5 separate regions of the Homo sapiens genome follow, and all the other regions are linked to region 1. Evidence: promoter capture Hi-C in human tissues and cell types (Jung and others, 2019). All regions are on one chromosome and are shown on one strand. Each heading gives the region's core, a stretch centred on a gene start or on the middle of the fragment in contact. The rest is flanking DNA. Distances are from core to core; before and after follow the strand shown.

Region 1 (2,525 bases), core at 15-2,514:
CTACAAAATAACTTAAAAAATTAGCCGTGCATAGTGGCAAGCGCCTGTAATCCCGGCTTCTTAGGAGGCTGAAGCAGGAGGATTGCTTAAGCCTAGAATTTCGAAGCTGCAGTGAGCCAAAGTGAGCCAAGATTGCACCAGGACACCCCAGCCTGGGCGACAGAGCAAGACACTGTCTCAAAAAACAAAAACAAACAAACAAACAAAAACCAAAAAAAGTCTTGTTGCTTGTATCTGGGATTGCTTGGAGCAATTAACATCTGCTTCACATGTCAAGTGCCTGCACAAACTAGGCCCTCAATAAGATGGGCTGCAGTAATGTAACAGTAACTAGCTGTGGTGGGGGCTTTCCTTTCCTGTCCCAAGGTGGGGGTGAAGGTATAGGATAGTGGCCGGGTGCAGCGGCTCACCTCTGTAATCCCAGAACTTTGGGAGGCCGAGGCAGGCAGATTACTTGGGGTCAGGAGTTCAAGACCAACCTGGACAACATGGTGAAACCCCGTCTCTACCAAAAATACAAAAATTAGCCGGATGTGGTGGTGCATGCCTGTAATCCCAGCTACTCGAGAGGCTGAGGCAAGATGATCACTTGAACTCGGGAGGTGGAGGTTGCCGTGAGCTGAGATTGTGCCACCGCACTCCAGCCTGGACGACAGAGTGAGACTCCATCTCAAAAGCAAAAACAAAACAAAAAGAAAAAAACCAACAACAAGAAGCCAAAAACCAAAAAACGTACAGGACAGTGAGAGGGGAAAGAGAAAACCTGAGGAGTGTCCTGGACATTGGGGCCTTATGTCCCCCACAACACGGGACTGCCTCTTGGGGGTTCTTAAGAGTACTCAGTGGTACAGGGAGGCTCCTGAATGGCTTGGAGAATAACTGCCTTGGTCTGGGCATCGTGTAGTGCATCCCCACCCCAGGCTGGGCGCGCCTCCCTCTCAGGTGTCAGGGAGGAGAGCTGTGTGCAGGAAGCCCCCTTCCACCTCCCCCAGCCTCCCTAAGGGGCTCAGAGAGAGTGGGGTGTGGATTTGGCTGGTGAATGGGAGTCCCCCACTCCATTTCTCACTTTGCCTGGGGAGGCTCCAGCGTTGCAGCGGTCCCACTTCTGCTTGCTGGAGTCCCTAAGTCCCTGGCCTTGCCGAGGGCCTTCCCCTATGGAGGTCTTTCCCGTTTTGGCATTGCGCAAGGCCTGCAGCTGCCTCCCTGACCAGCCTCTGGGTTGGACAGTAGAGCTGAGGCTTTGGGAAAGAGGAAGCAGCCCCTGATACGGGATCCTTCTCTCTTGAGCCGGCAGAGCCCTGGGGAGCCAGCTGCACCAGGAGCTCTTGGCCGTCCTTCCTGTTCTCCTCTCCGCAGGTCCAGCACCGCCGCAGCCACTTCCTTCTGTGGAGCAGGTACCCCTGTCCCTGGTCCCTGGGCCCAGAGGGTGAGTGGAGCATTAGGAGCGGGGCTGGGCTGAAACTGGCTGAGCGGGATAGGGGCAGGGGTCGGGGGGGGGCTCCATCTGGGTGCGAGTGGTGGACCCCAAACCAACCCAAGTCCAAGACACTAATCAAAGATGGACTCAACTGAAACCCTTCCACCACCCCCAAATCCTTCCAACCTGCATCCCAATCCCAGTCCCGACCATCACCCTGCTCTGACCCTACCTCAGCCCCAGCCCCAGCCCCTATTCCAACCTTATCTCACCCTCACCTCACTTGCACCCCAACCCTAACCATTTACTCATCTCATCTAATCCCAACCATCCATCATCCCAACCCTAACCACAACTCCGACTCTATCATCCTCATCTCAACCCAGCCTCCACCGTATCTTAACCATCACCTGCACCCAACTCCAACCTTCACCCTTACCCCCACCCATCACTCAACCTCAATGTCCACCCCAATCCCAGCCTTAATTTGCTTCCAGAATTCCAACCTGATCATCACCCTGACCTCAGCCCCAGCCCAGCCCAACGATAATCTCTCCTTACTCTAACCCCAGCACAATTCCACTTCATCCATCACCACTTCGTCCGTCCACAGGAGGGCTTCTGGTGCTGTCCAGCACAGTTTGGAGAGTGAGCACTCCAGCCAGAAGCATTTAGAGCCAGATTAAGGAATGAAGTGTGAAATTTCTACTGCCCATGTCAAAGCCAATAAGCATTAGTTATGGATTCTATGGCTCTGAGAATTAAACATTTGGCCTGTGATTGGGGATTTCCACTATTTTGACCATAATCTGCTCCAGGAATTGCCCATCCGTACCCTGACTCCCTATCTGTGGGCCAGTAACCTCCAGCTGGCCATGTCACCCTGTGTTCTTCCTTCTCTAGCCCAATGGGGAAGTTGGGGAGAAGCCTTGGTGTCAGGAAACAGAAACTGAATCCTACACCCGGGCCTAGCTGTCCATAGGGAAACTGCCTCTGCCCTTTCTTCCCCAGCTAAACTTGGCCTCTGGAATCAGAGGTCAGGGACTTGGGGCCCCAGCCAACCCTCCAAGACCTCCTGAGGCACTTGGTCTCAAACAGGCAGCAAACG
Region 2 (2,525 bases), core at 16-2,515, 500 kb before region 1:
TAGGAGCCCTCAGGACATTTCTTTTTTTTTTTTTTTTTTTTCTGAGACGGAGTTTCGCTCTTGTTACCCAGGCTGGAGTGCAATGGCATGATCTCGCCACAACCTCCGCCTCCTGGGTTCAAGCGATTCCCCTGCCTCAGGCTCCCAGGTAGCTGGGATTACAAGTGCCTGCCACCACGCTCAGCTAATTTTTTTGTATTTTTAGTAGAAACGGGGTTTCTACATGTTGGTCAGGCTGGTCTCAAACTCCCAAACTCAGGTGATCCACCTGCCTAGGCCTCCCAAAGTACTGGGATTACAGGCGTGAGGCACTGCACCCAGCCAATTTTTTTTTAATCAAACACAGACACGACCAACTCAACTTGGTATTGAAGTCCTTTATAAGACCTCTCCCCTTAAAATACCAATGAAGAGCTGAAAAGAGGATAAAAATTCAAAGCAGGTCTTTAAAAATGAGGATATCAGCCAGCCATCTGCAAACAGTTGGGACTCCAGAGTTAACAAAGCTGAATTAAAAGACTCAGAGCTCTTGCCAGAGTGTTACCCTGTGCATCAAAGGCACCCCTGGCCAGAGGTGGGGAAGGAAAAGGCTCAGCCCTCTCCAATGCATATACCCCACCCTTAACTCCAAGAAGAGTCCATCCAATCATCAAACCTCCAGCCACTGTCCTGCTGCCCACACATTGCTTTCTGAGTAGCTGAGGACACAGTCGTGATCCTCCATTCTCCTGATCCCCTTCAGGAACTTTCTTTTTTGTTGTTTATTTGTTTGTGGGAGATAGGGTCTTGCTCTGTTGCCCAAGCTAGAGTGCAGTGGTGTGATCATAGCTCACAGCAGCCTTGAACTCCTGGGCTCAAGCGATTCTCTCACCTCAGGCTCCCCAGTAGCTGGGACTACAGGTGCATGCCACCATGCCCTGCTCATTTTTAAATTTTTGTAGAGACAGGGCCTCACTATGTTTCCCAGGCTGGTCTTGAACTCCTGGCCTCAAGTGATCCTCTCATCTCAGCCTCCCAAGGTGCTGGGATAGCAGGTGTGAGCCACCAAACCCAGCCCCTTTCAGGAACTTTCTACATCCAGTGAACACTTCATGCCCACTGGACTGTACCAGTTTGTGGGTTGGGAATCAGAAGGGATCTTGAGAGCAGGGTAAGACACCACAGTTTTTCAGGTCTTCATCTGATGGAAGAGAAGTAGCCAGCAGCTCTGAATTATTTTTAATTTTTTTATGTATCTATTTTTTTAGAGACAGTGTCTCACTATGTTGCCAGGCTGGACTCCTGGGTTCAAGCCATCCTCTTGCTTCAGCCTCCTGAGTAGCTGGGACTACAGGTGCGTGCTACCGCTCCCAGCTAGCTCTGAATATTTAGAATAAAATTCTTCCTCATCAGCCAAGAATTGGGCAGTGGGAACAGAAGATCTTTCCTCAATCTCATAGATTAGAACTAAAAGAATGCCCACTGGCTTCTATTCCCTACAGCCCCTTGGGCTGGAATCAAGCCATGAAATGCATCCTCCCCAGGGCCCTGAAGCCCTTGACCTATTCCTGCCAGGCCCCTTTGCTGGACCTGAGTCGCAGTAAGGGTAGCTTCCCATTCTGTGGATCCACGGCACATATCATCACCAGTGCCCAGAAAGCTCCCTCTTGGCCTGGATGACTCCCCTAAAGAAAGGTGTATTAGTCAGCTATAGCCACAGTAATGCTACAAAACAAGCCACCCCTTAATTCACAGGTTACAATAGCAAGCATTTATTTTTCTTGCTTAGGTCTCTGTCTGCAGATTCTAGTGTTGGTTCTAGGCTTTTATGGCTCAAATCCATTCCCCTTTTCTCTGTATTCTCCTTGAACCATCCGCTGTCTGGGGCATATTCTTCCCATGATTAATGACAAATACGTGAAGCTTTAGAGCTTCTGTTCCTAACACATCATCTATCCACATTTCACTGGCCAAAGCAAGTCATATGGCCAAGCCCAAAGCCAATGGGGCAGGGAAATATACTCTGCTCCAAGGAGAGGAAAGTGACTGAATATTTGCCAAAAATTTTCCAGTGCATCACAAGAGGACTGGCTCTTCTGGCAAAATTTCCTTCTACCCTTCTCTAGCCACCAACCAGGAGACCCCAGGGTGCAACTCATGACCAGCCCAGGAATATCCTAAGGGACCTGGACTCTACAACTGATGAGTGTTGGCCTCCTTTCAGCCAGCAAGGGTTCCTAAATTAAGGTGGACCACAGGCAGGGACAGTTGATATAATATCTGGGATAACTTCCCCATGTAGATAAGCAAGGTATAACTGGGAGGGCAGGATTCATATTCTGAGGGTGGATACACTTCTGGCAGGCAGTCTGGACATCACATTTCTGAGTCTCTGAATCTCTTTTTTTTTTTTTTTTTTGACATGGAGTCTCGTTCTGTCACCCAGGCTGGAGTGCAGAGGCACGATCTCGGCTCACTGCAACCTCCGCCTCCTGGGTTCAAGCGATTCTCCTGCCTCAGTCTCCCAAGTAGCTGGGACTACAGGT
Region 3 (2,525 bases), core at 9-2,508, 400 kb after region 1:
CTCCCGAGTAGCTGGGATTACAGACATGCACCACCATGCCCGGCTAATTTTGTGTTTTTAGTAGAGGTAGGGTTTCTCTATGTCGGTCAGGCTGGTCTCAATCTCCCGACTTCAGGTGATCTGCCTGCCACAGCCTCCCAAAGTTCTGGGATTACACGTGAGCCACTGCGCCCAGCCAGGAATTCTTTATAGATTTTGGATACTAATTCTTTGTCAATTCAGTATATTGCAAATATTTTCTTTCACCTGGTGGCTTGTCTTTTTATTTTATTTCTGATGCTTTTTCATGAATAAAAGTTCTTAGTTTTAATGTAATCAGGATAATTAATCATTTCCTATGTGATTCATATATTTTAGATCTATTGAGACTTTTCTGTTGAATTATAAAAATATAATTTTTCAAAGAATCCACCTGGATTGCTCTGTGAAAGTGATATGAGATAGAAGTCTAAGTTCATTTTTTAAATGTAGGTAGCCACCTGTCTCAGCAAAGTTATTGAAAAATCATTGTTTTCCCACTGATCGGCAGTGCCAGCTTTGTTATAAATCAAGTCTCTTTATGTGTGCATCTATTAATAGGCTCTCTGTTCTGTTCCATTGGGAAAGAAAATAACACATTGTCTTATTTTAGATAGATAACATATTTCTATATGGTGACTTAGTCTGCTTGGGATGCCATAACAAAATACCACAGAGTGAGTGGATTAACAGTAGGAATTTATTTCTCACAGTCTGGAGGCTGAGAAAATTATAACACTATACTAAAAGGCATTAAAAATGACATAAACACACATCCCATTCATGGACTGGAAAACTCAGGTTTACTTACTTGACATGGTAAAAATGACAATTCTCTCCAAAGTGATCTTTAAATTTAACATAATTTCAGGAAAAAAAAAACCAACAAGTTTTTTGAAAATCCTGAAAAGCCAACATAAAAATGTCAATAACTTTGAGCAAAGTGCTAAGAACAGCCAAGATACTCCTGAAGAAGAAAAACAAGGTGGGAACTTGCCTTATCACATTAGAGACTGAATGTTTGTGTCCTCTCCAAAATTCCAGTGTTGAAGCCTTAACCCCAAAAGTGATGTTATCTGGAGATGGGGCTTTTGGAAGGAAATAGGGGTTAGATGAGGTCATGAATGTGGGACAAGGTCTGTTGGGATGTGGTGCCCTTATAAGAGCTACCAGAGAGCTTAGCCCCTACCATGTATGCATGGAGGAGGAGTCATGTGGGCATGTGGCACCACACCTGGCTAATTTTTTTTTTTTTTTAGTAGAGATGGAGTTTCACCATGTTGGCTAGGCTGGTCTCAAACTCCAGGCCTCACGTGAAGCTCCCACCTCAGTCTCCCAAAGTGCTGGGATTACAGGCGTGAGCCACTGTACCTGGCTGGAGGGAGCCACCGCACCTGGCTGGAGGGACACTTTAAAAATGAAGGTTTTGGTCTGGCACGGTGGCTCACACCTGTAATCCCAGCACTTTGGAAGGCCGAGGCGGGCAGGTCACCTGAGGTCAGGAGTTCGAGACTAGCCTGGCCAGCGTGGTGAAACCCCATCTCTACTAAAAATACAAAAATTAGCTGGACCGTGGTGGCGCATGCCTGTAATCCCAGCTACTTGGGAGGCTGAGGCACAAGAATCACTTGAACCTGGGAGGCGGAGATTGCAGTGAGCAGAGATGGCACCACTGCACTCCAGCCAAGGCAACAGAGTGAGACTCCATCTCAAAAAAAAAAAAAAAAAAAGTAAAGTTTTGTACAGCACTGAGCATGAAGGAACTGTATAGCTGCATATTACTTGTAACATAGGTCACATTCAGGAACAGAATGTCAGGAGAAGTAAGCAAGTCACAGAAGAATACATGATTAGGATTTCATTTATATAAAAACACAGACAAAACTAAGTAATACACAGTTTACAAATACATTCAAGTGTGGTAAAACCATCCAGAATTCAGGATGCTGTTCCCCCTGGGTGGAAGAGAAGGGCTCTCATTGAGGAAGGACATCCAGGGGGTTTCAACGGTGCTAGTAATGCTCAATTTCTTAGGCCCAGTGGTGAGTTCATAGACATCTGGGTTTTGTAGTTGTTGCTTTAGTTTTTTTTTTTTTTTTTTTTTAAACCTTGTGTGTACATTTCACACACATTTATAGACACAGGATGAAAATCATCTAGCCATTGCATCATAAATTTCCCCAGCAGTGATAAATGTTCCCTCCTCACATAGACTGGGCTGTTGGAAGATTTTTATTTGTACAGCCAGTTTTCTGAAAGAGGAAAGCGAAATTCTTCTTTGGCATTTGCTTGGTATTTTGGTTTACCCTGAGGGCCCATCCCTCTTTTGTTGGACTTCCAGGGATACAGAGCTCAATCAAAGACAACCAAACTGCAGTCCTCCTGGTTTTGGGACAATAATGGGAAACTTCCTCTTATCCTGGGTTTTCAGACTTACAGAATGGAGAAGGAAGGACAGAGTTCATCCACTAAGGACACCAAGGATGGCACAAAGAGTCAGGGAGATC
Region 4 (2,525 bases), core at 19-2,518, 390 kb after region 1:
ATATGCTGCTGTTATTGAGGCTGTTTTGGCTGGCATTGCATGTTATGCTAAAACTTCCAGTCTAACAAAGGTAATTTAAATACCATGTTTCCCTTTCTGTAATTATTATTTTAATGTAAAACATTCTATCCATGTGTTTCTTCTTTGGACATCTTGTAGTACTCACTTTTGTGCGAGCTTGGGCCTCTTTGACACCAGGCAGAGAGAAGCCCTGAGAGCACTGAGCTTCTGCTGCCTGTGACTGTGCTGCTGTTGTCTTATGGATGACAACTAATCGGTGCTTCTTTGTAGACATCTGGTTGTGTTAAGGAAAAATCATTCTGTAGCACATTGTTTTGTTGAATAGCTTAAACAAAAGTCTTTTAAAAGCTAAAAAAAAAAAACCAAAAAGACAACTTTAGATTATTCTACTGTGAAATCTAATAAAGTTTGGTAAGTTTGATTTCCTATAACTCAGTGTTTAAAAAAAATAGCTAAAGATTAGAAAATCTGACTTGCTTTTCCTAGACAAGCACATGTGTTCCCGTTCTCTGACCATTATCTTCCTTGCTGTTTTGCGGTTAACCTGCCCTGCTGAGTTGGATTCCTATATCTGACCCAGTAAGGAGATGAGAAGAGTCAGCTTGATGCCTCCCAAATGCCAATAGGACCTTTTCTGAAGGAAGCCATTTGACATTGGAAAGGTTGTGTATGATGTAGATATCAGAGAGACTGTAGCTGTAGTCACCAGCTCCTTGCCATCTCCCCTCCTCACTGAACTTGTATCCCTGGTACTGACTCCGGATTTCTCAGCCCTTTAGCCACTACATGCAGAAGGCTTATCCAAAGCAGTGGGGTGTCCTTCAATATCAGTTCTCACATCTTTGTTTTTTAACTGATCTTTTGTAACTCTTGCTATTTGGATATTCTTAGCATCTGGCTAAAACTCTGAGGGCAGAGGTTCCTTCCCAAGAGCCAAGGAAGAGGGGAGGAGAAAGCACTTTTACAGACCTCACATTCCACTGCTGTCATCACAGCTGGTCACTTCTCTGGATCCAGCACGTCAGGTTCCAGTGCACACCTGCCTGAATGCAGTTTTGTCCTGTAAACCTAGCCTGGAGAAAGCAGGCCCTTCTTTCCCTTAACATGATACTTTCACTTTAATCTATTCATGCCTACCAAGTAGTCACATAGATGGGAAGGACACACTGTAGGGCATGGTGTGATCCTGGACAAGTGTTAGGAGGGCCCTTCCATCAGTGATATGTGTACTTTTTCCTGCTGTGAAAGCTAATTGTCGCTGTCTTATTATTTTACAGGCCAAGGAGGTAGCAGAGCAAACTCTGGGATCTGGGTTAGATTCCTTTGAGTTGATTCCGTTTAAGGCAGCCCTGCGGTAAGCAATGGCTGATATTTTTTATAAGGAATTTTTTTTCTTCGTTTTGGAATATTCTTTTTTCCCTTATAATTTAGATTTCATCTCCCCTTTGAGAAATGTTTCAGTAAAATAATGGGATGTGTGAAGGAGAATCATTCATGATTCAGCCTTCACTTAGAAGCCAAAGAGCCAAAGATGCAGGAACTGTTTGAGAAAGTCACACACATGTTCTGAGGTTAGAATGCAGGGCAGATTAACACCAGCATCACAGGAGATTTGACAAGCCTGGGTTCCAAGGCTAGAAAGGCAAAGCTGGGTACCTGAATGGTGAGGTTTCTAGGGGCAGAGGGCCCTGGGCACAGGAAGATAGTCACTGCTTAGAAGAAACTTGCACTGGGCCTCATCTGTCTCTTGAATGACAGAAACCCTGAGCCTGGCCGTGTCCTGGGGTCTGCATCATCTGAGAATCTGGTGATTTTTCCATCACATCTCCCAGCATGTCACGGTGGTTGTTATCCATAGCTAAATCTTCATGAACCCAGTCCACTTAACCACTGTTTCACGTGAGGACCATTATGTGCACTTTTATACAAAGGATACAAAAGACACCAATACTGGGGAATTTATTTAAGAATACTTCTAGGATGTGTCCTGTGATGCCTCAGGTCTATGTCCCACATTTTCTTAAATCTATAGTCCTGTGTAATAAGAGAGAGTATTTGAAAGATTAGTCAATTAATTGGTCTAACAAAAAGAATTCTATTTCTGCAGCCCCAGGAGTGGAAGAAAGAGCCAGAACTCTGTGGTGCAGGGCTTTAGACTTGCTTCAGGTCTTCTTTCCCCTGGGTCTTCTGGATCTTGCTGCCCTGGCCATGAAAGGGAAAGGATAAAGGAAGTTTGTTCCCTTAAGACCTTGTGCTGCCCTGTGCTATCTGTTTCTGGCCAACCTGAATTTGAGAACGCTTCTTCAGTTTGCATCTGTGTGACCTTGGGCAAGATAGGAACTGTCTGTATCTGCTCCTTCAGCTACCCACCTTGTAAAGCAGTTGGGCACATAGATGTTAGCTGCTGTCACAGTGGGGTATTCTCTTACCATCAATATGGCTGGCATAGTCATTCTACTTCTCCTTTACTTGGGCCCTTGCCTAGGCCACTCAGCCTCCCCAGA
Region 5 (2,525 bases), core at 16-2,515, 310 kb before region 1:
GGGGCTGCTGAGTCGATTACCACTCACCCATCTGTTTTCTATCTTCCAACTTATTTTTCCCCCACTATTGTCTACTCTGTTCTCTCTGTCCTCATGAGTTTGTGTCTTTAAACAAAATCCCTTTATAATAGTTTTAGTGAGTTTTGGGAGGAGCAAAAGTAGATGGGTGGATTCAATGCACCATCTTAACCTGGAAAAAAACTCCAATGGTATTAGGGAGATGTCTCCTCCCTGCATTCCCCTCCTTGTGAGCCCCTTTGGATGACAGACAGGCAAGTGAGAAACTAAGTAATGGAACCAAAGGCCTGGGATGGAAGCCGTGTCTCCCCATGGACAATGCTGTTCCACTACAGAATCCAAGCTTCTTCCCTCAGTCATGGCCTGAGTCAGCCTTTGAGGGAATAAAGGGCTGGAGTCCAGATTATGATGGCGTAGGTTGGAAGGGTAGGAAGCCAAGAAAAACTAAGGAAGCCTGCCTGGAGGAAGCACTGCAGCAGCAGGAAAAGCAGAAGATACAGAGTCTCTTTATCTGCATGGTGTCCTTATCTCCCAAATGAGAGAATTCATCTCTTCCAACTCTGCATCTATGACTCTGTGGGGATAAAAGTCACTCCAGAAAGCCTGTCTGCTTTCTTGCCCTGTTCCTCTTTCCCGTCTGTTGCTTTGGGATGAGGTGATAATGATTGGGAACTATTTGGGTAGATTGGATAGGTTGAAATGGAGGAAAAAGAAAACCAGCATAGTTCCTTTTTCCTAGAATGAGTTATGGGCAAAGATATATCATTCCACTTTATTCCTTTCTCTTTAAAGCTCAGGCCTAACAGAACCTAGCAGAGAGAAAAGGCAGTGATATAATTGGCTGGGGGAAATTGGAGGGGCAGAAGCTGTGATGATGGTGGTAGCCAAATGGTGGTCACAGCTGTGGGGGTTGTGTAATCAATAACTGGAGGAGCTTAGCAGAGCGGCTTGCTTTGTTCCATAGATGTAACTTGAAAGTACCCTCTGGGAGGCTGAGCTGGGCAGATCACTCAAGGCCAGGATTTTGAGACCAGCCTGGCCAACATGGCAAAACCCTGTCTCTACTAAGAATACAAAATTTAGCTGGGCATGGTGGCACACGCCTGTAATCCCAACTATTCAGGAGGCTGAGGCACAAGAATCACTTGAACAACCAGGAGGCAGAGGTTGCAATGAGTCTAGATGGCGCCACTGCACTCCAGCCTGGGTGACAAGAGTGAGACTCTGTCTCAAAAAAAGAAAAGAAAAGAAAAGAGGGCCAGGCGCGGTGGCTCATGCCTGTAATCCCAGCACTTTGGGAGGCCAAGGCAGGTGGATCACGTGAGGTCGGGAGTTCAAGACCAGCCTGACCAACATGGAGAAACCCCGTCTCTACTAAAAAAATACAAAATTAGCCAGGCATGGTGGCGCATGCCTGTAATCCCAGCTACCTGAGAGGCTGAGGCAGGAGAATCTCTTGAACCCGGGAGGCGGAGGTTGCAGTGAGCTGAGATCATGCCACTGCACTCCTGCCTGGGCAACAAGAGCGAAACTCCGTCTCAAAAAAAAAAAGAAAAGAAAAGCAACCAAGACACTGAAGTCAGTGGAGAAATACTCTGGCCTCCTGGTCATCCAGGCAGACAATGCTGAGGGCTGTTCTACAAGGTTTCTCAGTGGACGCCAAGCCAGACTGAGCCTCAGTTGCCCATGGCAGTAACTGGCCCATCAGCATACCTTACTGTTGGCTTCTCTCCCTTTCACAGCTTGCTTTCCCCATTTCTTCACTCTTATTTCCTGGAATCACCTCCCAAGTAAATTACCTACATCCAAGCCCTTGTCTTAAGATCTGTTCTTGGGAGAATCCACGCTGAGATGGGTATCCTCCAATCTAAAAGTGAGTCTGAGCAGGTTGTTCCACCCCTGGGAAATAGTGCTTCCAGTCTCCTGCATGTGTGGCTGGTCTCAGCTAAAAAGCTCCCACATGAGATCTTGAGAACATTTATATTTTCAGGAGTTCTGGGTGATTGGGCTTGTGTGTGCCAGAAAGGCAACGGGGCTTGTTGGTGGCTGGGTAAACAGAATCCCAGGTTCCCACCTCCTTCGCTGGCTTGTGGGTGGACACACAGCCAGTCCTAAAGGTACCATGCACACAGAAACCTACGCTTTCTCCCCAACTCTTGCTGTTTCACAGTCTTGCACACACATTCTGCATTAAGAAGCAATTCCGGTGGCTCATGCCTGTAATTCCAGCACTTTGGGAGGCCGAGGCGGGTGGATCTTGAGGTCAGGAGTTCGAGACCAGCCTGGCCAAGATGGTGAAACCCTGTCTCTTCTAAAAATACAAAAATTAGCTGGGCGCAGTGGCAGGTGCCTGTAATCCCAACTACTCGGGAGGCTGAGGCAGGAGAATCACTTGAACCCAGGAGGCGGAGGTTACAGTGAGCCAAGATTGCACCACTGCACTCTAGCCTGGGCGACAGAGAGACTTCATCTAAAAAAAAAAAAAGAAGAAGCAATTCCACCCCTCC

The links. Contacts are between HindIII fragments. The study calls those that stand out against the background at their distance.
Region 2: a fragment that was not itself captured here is called in contact with the fragment with the promoter of SIGLEC1 in region 1 in 1 of the 25 tissues and cell types used here (spleen).
Region 3: a fragment that was not itself captured here is called in contact with the fragment with the promoter of SIGLEC1 in region 1 in 1 of the 25 tissues and cell types used here (hippocampus).
Region 4: a fragment that was not itself captured here is called in contact with the fragment with the promoter of SIGLEC1 in region 1 in 1 of the 25 tissues and cell types used here (dorsolateral prefrontal cortex).
Region 5: a fragment that was not itself captured here is called in contact with the fragment with the promoter of SIGLEC1 in region 1 in 1 of the 25 tissues and cell types used here (thymus).

What each region holds. Positions count from the first base shown.
Region 1 is chr20:3,711,339-3,713,863 of GRCh38, reverse strand. SIGLEC1 (sialic acid binding Ig like lectin 1) reads left to right here and starts at 1,264. Exons shown (of 22, transcript NM_023068.4): 1 at 1,264-1,394. The HindIII fragment of the contact is 16,568 bases long and covers 1-2,525 here.
Region 2 is chr20:4,210,169-4,212,693 of GRCh38, reverse strand. No RefSeq gene overlaps it. Among named protein-coding and RNA genes, the nearest start is that of LINC01433, 18 kb to the right of the region's middle. The HindIII fragment of the contact is 8,948 bases long and covers 1-2,525 here.
Region 3 is chr20:3,307,565-3,310,089 of GRCh38, reverse strand. All of the region lies in intron 20 of DNAAF9 (dynein axonemal assembly factor 9), which reads left to right. Among named protein-coding and RNA genes, the nearest start is that of SLC4A11, 70 kb to the right of the region's middle. The HindIII fragment of the contact is 8,715 bases long and covers 1-2,525 here.
Region 4 is chr20:3,323,742-3,326,266 of GRCh38, reverse strand. DNAAF9 (dynein axonemal assembly factor 9) reads left to right here. Exons shown (of 37, transcript NM_001009984.3): 13 at 1-70; 14 at 1,299-1,375. Among named protein-coding and RNA genes, the nearest start is that of DNAAF9, 83 kb to the left of the region's middle. The HindIII fragment of the contact is 9,834 bases long and covers 1-2,525 here.
Region 5 is chr20:4,020,005-4,022,529 of GRCh38, reverse strand. No RefSeq gene overlaps it. Among named protein-coding and RNA genes, the nearest start is that of RNF24, 5.7 kb to the right of the region's middle. The HindIII fragment of the contact is 4,326 bases long and covers 1-2,525 here.